Linked DNA regions of Homo sapiens: region 1 is linked to region 2. Evidence: promoter capture Hi-C in human tissues and cell types (Jung and others, 2019). All regions are on one chromosome and are shown on one strand. The core of a region is centred on a gene start or on the middle of the fragment in contact, and the rest is flanking DNA. Distances in the headings are between cores, read along the strand shown.

Evidence for each region. The method cuts DNA at HindIII sites, captures the fragments that hold promoters and counts their contacts. A contact is called where the count stands out against the background at its distance.
Region 1: the fragment with the promoter of ZNF799 here is called in contact with the fragment with the promoter of ZNF441 in region 2 in 2 of the 25 tissues and cell types used here (hippocampus and mesenchymal stem cells).

Annotation. Positions count from the first base shown.
Region 1 is chr19:12,398,938-12,404,622 of GRCh38, reverse strand. ZNF799 (zinc finger protein 799) reads left to right here and starts at 3,352. Exons shown (of 4, transcript NM_001080821.3): 1 at 3,352-3,555. The coding sequence starts at 3,553. RefSeq lists enhancers at 3,198-3,247, 3,968-4,057 and a silencer at 3,578-3,737. The HindIII fragment of the contact is 18,323 bases long and covers 1-5,685 here.
Region 2 is chr19:11,763,626-11,769,715 of GRCh38, reverse strand. ZNF441 (zinc finger protein 441) reads right to left here and starts at 2,716. Exons shown (of 4, transcript NM_152355.3): 1 at 2,520-2,716. The coding sequence starts at 2,522. RefSeq lists silencers at 1,686-1,795, 2,246-2,385 and an enhancer at 2,456-2,555. The HindIII fragment of the contact is 15,674 bases long and covers 1-6,090 here.

The sequences.
Region 1 (5,685 bases), core at 2,103-4,602, 630 kb before region 2:
ATCTCGGGCTGCTGTCTTTAAGACTGGCACTGAGGGCCGGGCATGGTGGCTCACGCCTGTAATCCCAGCAGGCAGGAGAACTGCTTGAACCTGGGAGGTGGAGGAGGCTACAGTAAGCCAAGATTGCAACATTGCGCTCCAGCGTGGGCAACAAGAGTGAAACTCTGTCTCAAAAAAAAATAAAAATAAAAATAAAAGAGAGAGAGACCAATACAATAATAGCTGGAGATTTTAACACCCCGTTTTCAGCACAGGACAGATCTTCCAGACAGTAAATCGACAAAGATTATCTCAATATATACTGAAAAATCAGACAAAAGAAAGATTAAATGGGATTTAATCTACACTATAGATCAAATGGATCTAATAGATATTTACAGAACATTTTATCCAACAGCTACAGAATACACATATTTTTCCCGAGCACATGCATCATTCTCAAGGATAGACCATATGTTAGTTCAAAAAGCATGTCTTAAAACTCTCCAAAAAAATTGAAATAATTTAAATTGTGTCATAGAATACATGGAATAAACTAGAAATCAATGACAAGAGGAATTCTGGAAACCATACAAACATATGGAAATTAAATAATCTGCTTCTGAATGACCAATTGGTCAGTGGAGAAATTAAGAAGGAAATTGTAAAGTTGCTTGAAACAAATGATAATGAAAATGCAACATACCAAAACCTATGGAATACAGCAAAAGCAGTACTAAGAGGGAAGTTTATAGATATAAGCACCTACATCAAAAAAGAAGAAGACCTGCAGGCTGGGTGCGGTGGCTCCCACCTGTAATCCCAGCACTTTGGGAGGCCGAGGTGAGTGGATCACCTGAGCTTAGGAGTTCAAGACCAGCCTGGCCAACATGGTGGAACCCTGTCTACTAAAAATACAAAAAATTAACCAGACATGGTGGTGGGTGCCTGTAATCTCAGCTACCTGGGAGGCTGAGGCAGGAGAATTGCTTGAACCCAGGAGGCAGAGGTGGCAGTGAGCTGAGATTGCGCCATTGCACTCCAGCCTAGGCTGCAAGAGTGAAGTAAAACTCACATCAAAAAAAAAAAGAAGAAGAAGAAGAAGAAGAAAACCTTCAAATAAACAACCTAAGAATGCATTTTAAAGAATTAGAAAAGCAAGAGCAAACCAAACCCAAAATTAGTAGAAAAGAAATAATAAAAATCAGAGTAGAAATAAATGAATTTGAAATGAAGAAACAATAGAAAAGAACAATGAAACAAAAAGTTGGTTTTTTGAAAAGACAAACAAAACTGACAAACCTTGAGGTAGACTAAGAAAAAAACAGAAAGGCCCAAATAAATAAAATTAGAGATGAAAAAGGAGACATTACAGTTGATACTGCAGAAATTCAAAGGATCATTAATGCAACTAAGAACAACTATATGCCAATAAATTGGAAAACCTAGAAGAAATTGATAAATTCCTAGGCAGATAGAACATAGCAACATTGAACCATGAAGAAATAAAAAACCTGAACAGACCAATAACAAATAATGAGATCAAAGCCATAATAAAAAGTCTGCTAGCAAAGAAAACCCCAGAACCCAGTGGCTTCACTGCTGAATTCTACTAACATTTAAAAAAGAACTAATACCAATCCTACTCAAACTATTCCAAAACAGAGGAGAAGGCAATACTTCCAAACTTATTTTACAAAGCCAATATTACTTTGACACCAAAACCAGACAAAGACATGTCAGAAAAAGAAAACTATAGGCCAGTGTCACTGATGAATATTGATGCAAAAATCCTCAACTCAATACTAGCAAACTGAATTTAACAATACACCAAAAAGATCATTCATCATGACCAAGTGGGCTTTATCCCTGGGATGCAAGGATGGTTCAATATATGCAAATCAATCAATGTGATGTATCATTTCAACAGAATAAAGGGCAAACACCATATAATCATTTCAATGTGCACTGAAAAAGCTTTTGATAATATTTAACATCCCTTCATGATAAAAACCCTAAAAAAAAACTGGGTATAGAAGCAGCTACCTTAACATAATAAAAGCCATATATGGCAGACCCACAGCTAGCATGATAATGAATGAGGAAAAACTGAAAGCCTTTCCTGTAAGATCTGGAACACAATAAGAATGCCCACTTTTACCACTGTTGTTCAGCACAGTACTCGAAGTCCCAGCTAGAGCAATAAGTCCAAAAAAAAAAAAAAAAAGAAATAAAGGGCATCTATATTGGGAAGGAAAGGAAGAAGTCAAATTATCCTGGTTTGCATATAATATGATCTTATATCTGGAAATACCTAAAGACTCCACCAAAAAAGTATTAGAACTGAGAAATAAATTCAGTAAAGTTGCAGGATACAATATTAACATACAAAAATCAGTAACATTTTTATATGCCAACAGTGAACAATCTGAAGCTACTTGAGAGGCTGAGGTGGGAGGATTGCTTGAGCTTGGGAGGTAGAGGTTGCAGTGAGCCATGATGGCCCCACTGCACTCCAGCCTAGGCAACAGAGCAAGACCCCATCTCAAACAACCAAAAACGTGTAGAAGGATGGTTACCACAGGCTGGGAAAAGTAGTAGCGAGGAGTAGTTATGGGGGAAGTGGGGATGGTTAATAGGTATAAAAAATAGTTACAAAGAATGAATAAGACCTAGTATTTGCTAGCACAACAGAGTGACTATAGTAAAAAATAATTTAATTGTACATTGAAATATTTTGAAAAATTTCATTGAAAAAGAGTATAATTGGAGCCAGGCGCGATGGCTCACGTCTCTAATCCCAGAACTTTGGGAGGCCAAGGTGGGCGGATCACGAGGTCAGGAGTTCGAGACCAGCCTGGCCAACATGGTGAAACCCGGCCTCTACTAAAACATACAAAAATTAGCCGGGTGTGGTGGCGCGCACCTGTAATCCCAGCTACTCGGGAGGCTGAGGCAGAATTGTTTGAACCCACCTAGGAGGCGGAGGTCGCAGTGAGCCTCGCACCATTGCACTCTAGCCTGAGCCACGGAGCAAGACTCCCTCTCTCTCTCTCTCTCTCTCTCTCTCTCTCGGAAAAAAAAAAAAAAAAAAAAAAAAAAGTATAATTGTTTTGTCAGTCAGTGTACAGGAGGAAGAAGCAGGAGGTCCTATTGAGTACAGGCAGGAAATTCCGCTTAAGTGCAAATATCCCTCGGGAGGATTCAGATCAAAGAGCAGGGAGGAAGCCCGCCCTGCCAAGGGCTGTGTCAGGAACTTGCTCATCTGGCTCCACTCAGCTGTGCAAGATCGCTTCTTCTGTCAATCAGTCCACGAGGGGCGGCACCTGACGCCGTATCCAGTAAGGGCCGTGGGGCGGGTTCGTGGGAACTGTCAATCAGGCGCGCTTCCCAGAGGAGTGTGTGGTTGAAAAAGCCCGCGGCGTCTTCTCCACCCACCTGCGCTGGGCGCTCGGTGCTCGGCTCTGTAGCTAAGAGACGACCTGGAAGTTCCGTGGCAGCCTGTGTCCCGCGGGAACCCGCATTGGCAGCGGGAGCCGTCCGGAGGACCTGGGACACCGCGGAAGTCGGGAAATGGTGCGTGTGCTGGGCCGGCGTCCCGAGGCGGGGGAGGGGCTGGGTGGAACCTGCAGTAATCGGCTGTGGCTGGACCCGGGCCTCCCCAAGGGCTACTCCGGGATCTACGGACCCGGGTTCCCCTGGCGTAGGTCGGCCCTCGGCCGCAGGGTGGGGCTGGGCATGCAGCCGGGACCCCGGGCGTCCTGTCCCGTTCCTGCGCGGCGACTGCGGCCCCGGCGCCCTCTCTGGGCAGCTCCGCGCCCGCAGCCTCGCGTCTCCCGAGATTGTGCGGCTGTAAGCAACACAGGTTCGCGGCCCGACTCACTGCACCGAGACGCTGAGGGCTGCAGCAGAAACAGTTTAATAGCCAGAGAGGGGAGGACACCCCAGATCCGCCTCCCTGAGGGATTTGGGGTCTGGACGGGGGCGGCTGGGTGTAGGGTCGTTGGTTGGTGGGGAAGTGAGGGGTGAATCCTGGGACAGGAGGTGAAGAAACCGCATTCTGCTGAATGGGCTCCCTCGTTGGGACTTCAACCTGATTGGCGCCAGCCTTTGCTGGGATTCAGGATCTGAGAACTCCGGCGACTCTTGAGCAGTTCTCAGAGATCTTATCCCCAGGCACAATGGGGAAGCCGGCGGTCAGCGTCTGCTGTGACCTGACTCTCAGGGAGGCGGCCCCTTGAGGCAGCGGGGCTGAGGGCACCTGGTTAATATCTAACTGCAATCTCGCCTCCAGCCTGGCTCGCAGTTCCTGTGAACCCGGTGAGGAGGCTGCACGGTGACGACGAGTCACCAGGTGGAATCCAGACTCGTGTGTGGGGTTTGTGTGTGGGAGGAGCTGTGGTCTCCGTGGTCCTCAGTCCCTTCTTTCTTTCCAAGGGCGACCGTTTCCCCTCTGAGTCTTCCAAAGATGTGGTTAGCAGGGTCTCAAATCCACCACTGTGTTCTCTCATCCTGACTCCTCCTAGGGCTGGCAGCAAATCTCTTGGTTTCCAGAGACTTCCCCAGGCTAACCTTCTGTCCTTAATTCACAGCAACGGTATGAACTGTTTGGCCCCCAGGCGATATTTCACTAGTTTGTCATCTTGTTTTCAGCTAGCAATGTATGGCTTTTTCTTGAAAGAATTATTTTGGGTTCCTGAACACGGTGGGTCATTCCTGTAATTCCAGCACCTTGGGAGGCTAAGGCAGAGGTATTGCTTAATCTTAGTAGTTCCAGACCAGCCTGGGCAACATGGCAAGACCTTGTCTCTAGTATAAATGATAATAATAAAATTAGCTGGGCTTGGTAGCTGGCACCTGTAGTCGCAGCTACTCCTGAGGCTGAGGTGGGATGATGGCTGGAGCCCAGGAGTTTGAAGTTGCAGTGAGCTATGATCGTGCCTCTGCATCCCAGCCTAGGCAACAGAGGCCGACCCTGTCTCAAAAAAAAAAAAAAAAAAGGGTGTCCACAGCTGCCAAGTCTCTTGGAGGGTCTAGTGAATATCATCCCCTGGGTCACTCCTCCCAGGGGACAGCCTGAGATGGGGGGTGTGGCCCCCTGGGGAGCAACTGGATCCACTGGGATGGGAGGAATCTTCTGGTATATAATTCCTGTAAAAAGCTAACTCCTGGGACACTCACCTTTTCTTCCCAACCCTAGTTTCCATTCCTTGGAGACACATGACTGAACAGCCAATTTCATGGTCATATTCCATAGGAAAAAAAAACAGAAATGATTTTTGCCTTCTGGACTCTCTCAGACTTAAAAGGTAGAAAGTTATATCTAAGGACTGGAGAACCTGCCCGTTGAGGTAGTGCAAGATCCTGAAAAGCACACAAGGCAGTGTCTCCTGGGAGGGTGATGACCAGAATAGGGTTAAGGGATGTCCCAGGTGATAGGATGACCCACCCTGATTGTTGCATTAGACTTTTCTGTGTTCCAGTCAGCACTGCTGATTCCTGAGTTTGTTAGCTTGAAAAGATATGTTTACTCTTTTCAGCCTAAATTTTTGATTAACCTTAAAATACATCCTATGATTAGAGATTGTTATTGTATACTTTGAAGACAAAGTATACCCAAAGTTGGAAAGAGTTGGACTTCAGAAAATAAATTGTATAAGTAATTCTAGAAAGAGTTGGATTTCAGAATATAAATGGTATATGTAA
Region 2 (6,090 bases), core at 1,467-3,966:
CAACAGAGCAAGACTCCATCTCAAAAATAAAAAATAAAAAAAAAAAGAGTCCTTTAGTAGACAACTGACCTGCTGCTTGAAACTGAATTCTCAGCCTTTATAGCTTTGAGAAATGAATATCTGTTGTGTAAGGCATGCAGTCTATGGTAAATTTGTTATAGCAACCCAAAGGACTAAGTTAGGAAGGGTCTTTCTCTACCACACATCAAGGCTTTGAAGACTATAGTAATCAGGAGAGTATGATATTAGCAGACTGATGGATACATAAACCAATGAAAAATGGCAAATTCTGGAACAAGAGCATCTACTTAAGGTACAAGAACCTATGACACAGCAGGTATTGCCAGGCAGTGATACAAATGAGGGACACTTCAACAGAAATGATGGAGACAAATGGTTACCTACAGGAGAATAATCCATCTTCTGCCCAGCATCTCCATATACAATGATCAACTAACTATAGACTTTCCAGTTTTCATTAATTTTTACTCAGTTTGTTACCTCAGCTTCCATTTTGAGTGTGGTTTCGTTTTTCCATACCAAAAAAGGGGTTTTATGACCCTTGACACAGTTTCTAGTTCTCTATCTTCTCCCAGTTCTTCAATTTGGTTGATCCATATGCATCCCTTATACCATCATCTCCTTTCACCACCTCCCTATGGGTGCAGAGTGTGTCAAGTCAGGTCCTCCTATCACCTGGAACATCCCCCATCACCATGCTGCTCACCGAAGTGCTCAATAACCATGATCCCAGGAGACACTACATTGTTAGCTTTTCAGGTTCTTGCACCACCTCAGTGGAGTTGGTTTTCCTGTCCTTAGGGATAGTTTTCTCCCTTCATTAGTCTGAGAACATCAGAAGGGAAGAATCATTTCAGTCCTGTCCCCTTAATACCACCATCCAATTGGCTGACCAGCCATATATCCCCAAGGAAGGGATGGGGGAAGAAAAGCTGAGTGTTCTAAGGAAGTAGCTTATTGAGGAAGGGTATACCAGGAGACTCCTCCCACTACAGGGCATCATGCTGCTTCCCTACAAGGTCCCACCATCTCCACCTCAGGGTGTCCTCTGGGAGGAGTGACAAAGGGACTGATATTCACTTGACACTACAAGAGACTTGGCAGCTGTGGGCATCTTGGGGTGGCCCCAGGCAGCTCTGAAACCCAGGACCAGGAAACCATAGAGGATGGGCTGGGGACTCATCACTCTGTAACGTTTCCAAAGAGGAAACTTAATCCAAAGACATTCTCAAAAGGTGTCTCTGTCTAGGGATGATGAAGGGAGGACAGTAACAAAGATTTTATTTATTAATATTCATTTTTTTTACAGCGAAATGTCTGGTGGTTTTTCTCTGCTTCCTCTCATGTGAAATGTTCACAAACACAAAACCTTTTACAAAGAGCCATATATTGCTATGTATAAACAAAATGACAATTAAAATACTAGCCTCTGTTTGAAAAATAAACTGGGGGACAAGGAGTTCATAAAGTTGCTGTGAATTGAGGAGAGAAAGCCTGAGGAAGGCTCTGGAAGCCAAGGGATTTTCTGTCGGCCCTAGGAGGAGTTAGGATGAGAGAACACAGTGGTGGACTTGAGACCCTGCTGCCCACATCTTTGGAAGACTCGAAGGCGAACGGGTCACCCTTGGGAAGAAAGAAGGGACAGGGGACCACACAGACCACAACTCCTCCCACACACAAACCCCACACACGAGTCTGCCTGGTGACCTGTCATCACCGTGCAGCCTCCTCACCGGGTTCACAGAACTGCGAGCCAGGCTGGAGGCGAGATTGCAGTTAGATATTAACCAGGTGCCCTCAGCCCCGCTGCCTCGCGGGGCCGCCTCCCCAAGAGTCAGGCCACAGCAGATGCTGACCGCCGGCTTCGCCATTGTGCTTGGGGATGAGATCTCTGAGAGTTGCTCAAGAGTCGCCTGAGTTCTTTCTCAGATCCTGAATTCCAGCGGAAAGGCTGGCGCCAACCAGGCTGAAGACCCCACAAGGGAACCCACTCAGCAGAAGAATGCGGTTTCTTCACCTCCAGTCCCAAGAGTCACCCCTCACTTCCCCACCATCCAGCGACCCCACGCCCCAGCCGCCCCTGTCCACACCCCTAAACACCCCATCCCCAAACCTCTCAGGAAGGCGGATCTGGGGTGTCCTCCCCTCTCCCCCTATTAAACTGTTTCTGCTGCAGCCCTCGGCGTCTCGGTGCAGTGACTCGGGCCGCGAACCTGTGCCGGTTACAGCCGCACAATCTGGGGAGACGCAGGACTGCGGGCGCGGAGCTGCCCAGACAGGCCTCCAGGGCCAGGGCCGCAGTGGCCGCGCAGGGACGGGACAGGACGCCCGGGGTCCCGGCTGCCGCCCCAGCCCCATCGTGCGGCCGAGGGAACCGAGGGCCGAGCTGCGCCAGGGTGTCGCCGGCGGGGAAGACCTGGTGCCACCACAGCCGGTTCCGGCCGGTTCCAACCAGTCTCTCCTCTCACGCGTCGGGACACCAGACCTCACACACTCACCATTTCCCGGCTTCCGGCGTCCAGGTTCCTCCCTCTGCCTCCCGCTGTCAGTGCGGGTCCCAGCGAGACAGAAGCTGCCACAGACGTTCCAGGGCGTCTCTCAGTGACAGAACCCGGAGCCCAGTGCAGGGGCGTGGAGAAGACTCGGCGGGCTCTTTGAACCTTGCACCCTCCTCCGGTCAGTGCGCCTGATTGACAGTTCTCACGACCCCGCCCCGCGGCCCTGATTGGATAGTGCGCCAGGTCCCTCCCCCGGGCACTGAGTAACGGAAGAAGCGATCTCGGGCAGCGGAGTGGAACCTGATAAACAGATTCCAGACAGGCCTTGAGAGGACTAGCTTCCTCCCTGCGCTGTGACCTGACCCCCTCCCAGGGGACATTTGCATTTAGGCAGTATGTCCTGACCTTCCTCCTTTTTCCTCTTGGACAGGGACCCACAAGTCTGTGCAGGAAATTCCAGACTCACTGTCCAGTGGAGCTATCCCCTGATTTGAGAGCAGGAAGGGAGCCCAGGCCACACTGCAGCAGAAGGGAGGGGCTGATGTCCTCCAGGAATCAGGAGTTTTGGATGAGGCTGTTGGCTGCACAGGCCAAGCCTTTCTCCCACCTTATGTCTCAATCTACTAATTTTCAGTGCAGAATATAAAAACACCCCAACAAAGCCGGGCGTGGTGGCTCACACCTGTAATCCCAGCACTTTGGGAGGCTGAGGCAGGTGGATCACCTGAGGTCAGAAATTCGAGACCAGTCTGGCCAACATGGTGAAATCCCGTCTCTAAAATACAAAGATTAGCCGGATGTGGTGGCGCACGCCTGTAGTCCCAGCTACTCAGGAGGCTGAGACAGAGGAATCACTTGAACCTGGAAGGCAGAGGCTGCAGTGAGAGAGTGGGCGAGACAGAGGGAGACTCCGTCTCAAAAAAAAAAAAAAAGAAAAAAGAAAAAAGAAATAAATAAAATTGTTAAATGTGTGGAAAAACTGGAATTATATGGCGGCAATATTTTATAAAGCAAAAACTTGAACTAGCTCAGATAAGCAGCCTGCTGCATCCACACACAGTTCACAAGTCAACCACTTTCAGGAGGCCAAACATATTCCAAAGCTTGGAGGCCAGACGATAATTCCTGAAATGGAGCCCTAGGGTGGATCAGAACCTGGGGATGAGTCAGGGGCACTAATGGATTTAACTCTGGGAGTTCAATTTGCCCTCCTGTCTCCTAAACACAGCGTGGAAATGCTCCTTCCATCAAGCCTATAAATGTTATTGAATTAAATGCTTCAATCAAAGGCTGAGACATTAGACTTTGAATTTGAAAACATTCATCTTCATATTTTTATGAAGAATACCAGATATAAAAGCATTATGAGGCCAGGCACCGTGGCTCATGCCTGCAATCCCACCACTTTGGGAGGCTGAGGTGGGTGGATTGCTTGAGCTCAGGAGCTCAAGACCGGCCTGGGCAATGTGGTGAAACCCCCATCTCTATTTAAAAACAAACAAAAAAAAAGCGTTATTAACTGGGAGCTGGCACCCATGGTGATACGAAGAAAAAGAGGTTTAATTGACTCACAGTTCAGCATGGCTGGGGAGGCCTCACAATCATGGTGGAAGGCAAAGGAGGAGCAAAAGCAAATGTTACATGGCGGCAGGCAAGAGAGCGTGTGCAGGGGAACTGCCCTTTATAAAGCCATCGGATCTCATGAGACTTACTCACCCAAATCTCATTTTGAATTGCAGCTCCCATAATCCCCACATGTCATGGGAGTGATCCAGTGGGAGGTAATTGAATCATGGAGGCGGTTTTCCCATGCTGTTCTCGTGATAGTGAATAAGTCTCATGAAATCTGATGGCTTTATAAAGGGCAGTTTCCCTGTACATGCTCTCTTGCCTGCCGCCATGTAACATTTGCCTTTGCTCCTCCTTAGCCTTCCACCAACACCTGACCAAATGGATATGACATCTACAGAACTTTCCACCCAAAACCAACAGATTATACATTCTTCTCCTCACCACATGGCACATACTCTAAAATCAGTAACATAATCAGACATAAAATAACCCTCAGCAAATTAAAAAAACAAGCAAACAAAATCATACCAACTGCACTCTCAGACCACAGTGCAATAAAAATAGAAATCAAGACTAAGAAAATCTCCCCAAACCATACAATTATATCAAAATTAAATGACCTGGTTCAGAATGACTTCTGAGTAAATAATGAAATTAACACCAAAATCAAGAAATTCTTGGAAACTGAGAAGAAAGATACAACATACCAGAATCTCTGGGGCACAGCTAAAGAAGTGTTAAGATGGAAATTTATAGCACTAACTGCCCAAATCAAAAAGAAAGATCTGAAATTAATAACCCAATATCACAACTAGAAGAACTAGAGAAGCAAGAGCAAACCAATCCCAAAGCTAGCAGAAGACAAGAAATGACCAAAATCAGAGCTAAAATGACCAAAATCAGAGCTAAACTGAAGGAAATTGAGATACAAAAAAAAAAAAAAACATACAAAAGATTAGCAAATGCAAGACTTAGTTCTTGGAAAAAAATAACTTAAAAAGTCCCAAATAGTCAAGGCAATCCTAAGCAAAAAGAACAAAGCTGGAGGCATCATGCTACCAGACTTCAAACTATATACTACAGGGCTACAGTAAGGTATTTTTACAAAAACTGACACATTACCAATGGAACAGAATAGAGAGCCTAGAAATAATGCTGCTCACCTTCAACCATCTGATCTTTCACAAAGCTGACAAAAACAAGCAGTGGGGAAGGACTCATCAATGGTGCTGGGATAACTGGCTAGCCATATGCAAAAGATTGAAACTGAACCCCTTTCTTAAACCATATACAAAAATCAACTCAAGATGGATTAAAGACACTTTTCAAAAGAAGACATGCATGTAATCAACAAGCAAATGAAAAAAAAAATGCCCAATATCACTAATCATTAGAGAAATGCACATCAAAACCACAATGAGATACCATTTCACACCAGTTAGAATGGCCATTAATAAAAAGTCAAAAAATAACAGATGCTGGGAAGGTTGTGGAGAAAAGGGAATGCTTATACTCTGCTGGTGGGAGTTTAAGTTAGTTCAACCATTATGGAAAGCAGCGTGGTGATTCCTCAAAGCACTAAAAACTGAATTACCGTTTGACCCAGCAATCCAATACCCATTTACTGGGGTATTGGATCCACATACCCAAAGGAATATGGATCATTCTACCATAAAGACACATGCACACCTATGTTCATTGCAGCACTACTCACAATAGCAAATATATGAAATCAACCTAAATGCCTGTTAACAGTAGACTGAATAAAGCACATTTGGCACATATACACCAAGAAATACTATGCAGCCATAAAAAAGAACAAGATCATGCCTTTGCAGAAACATGGATGGAGATGGAGGCTATTATCCTTAACAAACTAACACAGGAACAGAAAACCAAATATCACATATTCTCACTTAATAAGTGGGAGTTACATAATGGGAACATGTGAACACAAAGAAGGGAACAACAGACGCTGAGGCATACTTAAGGGTGGGAG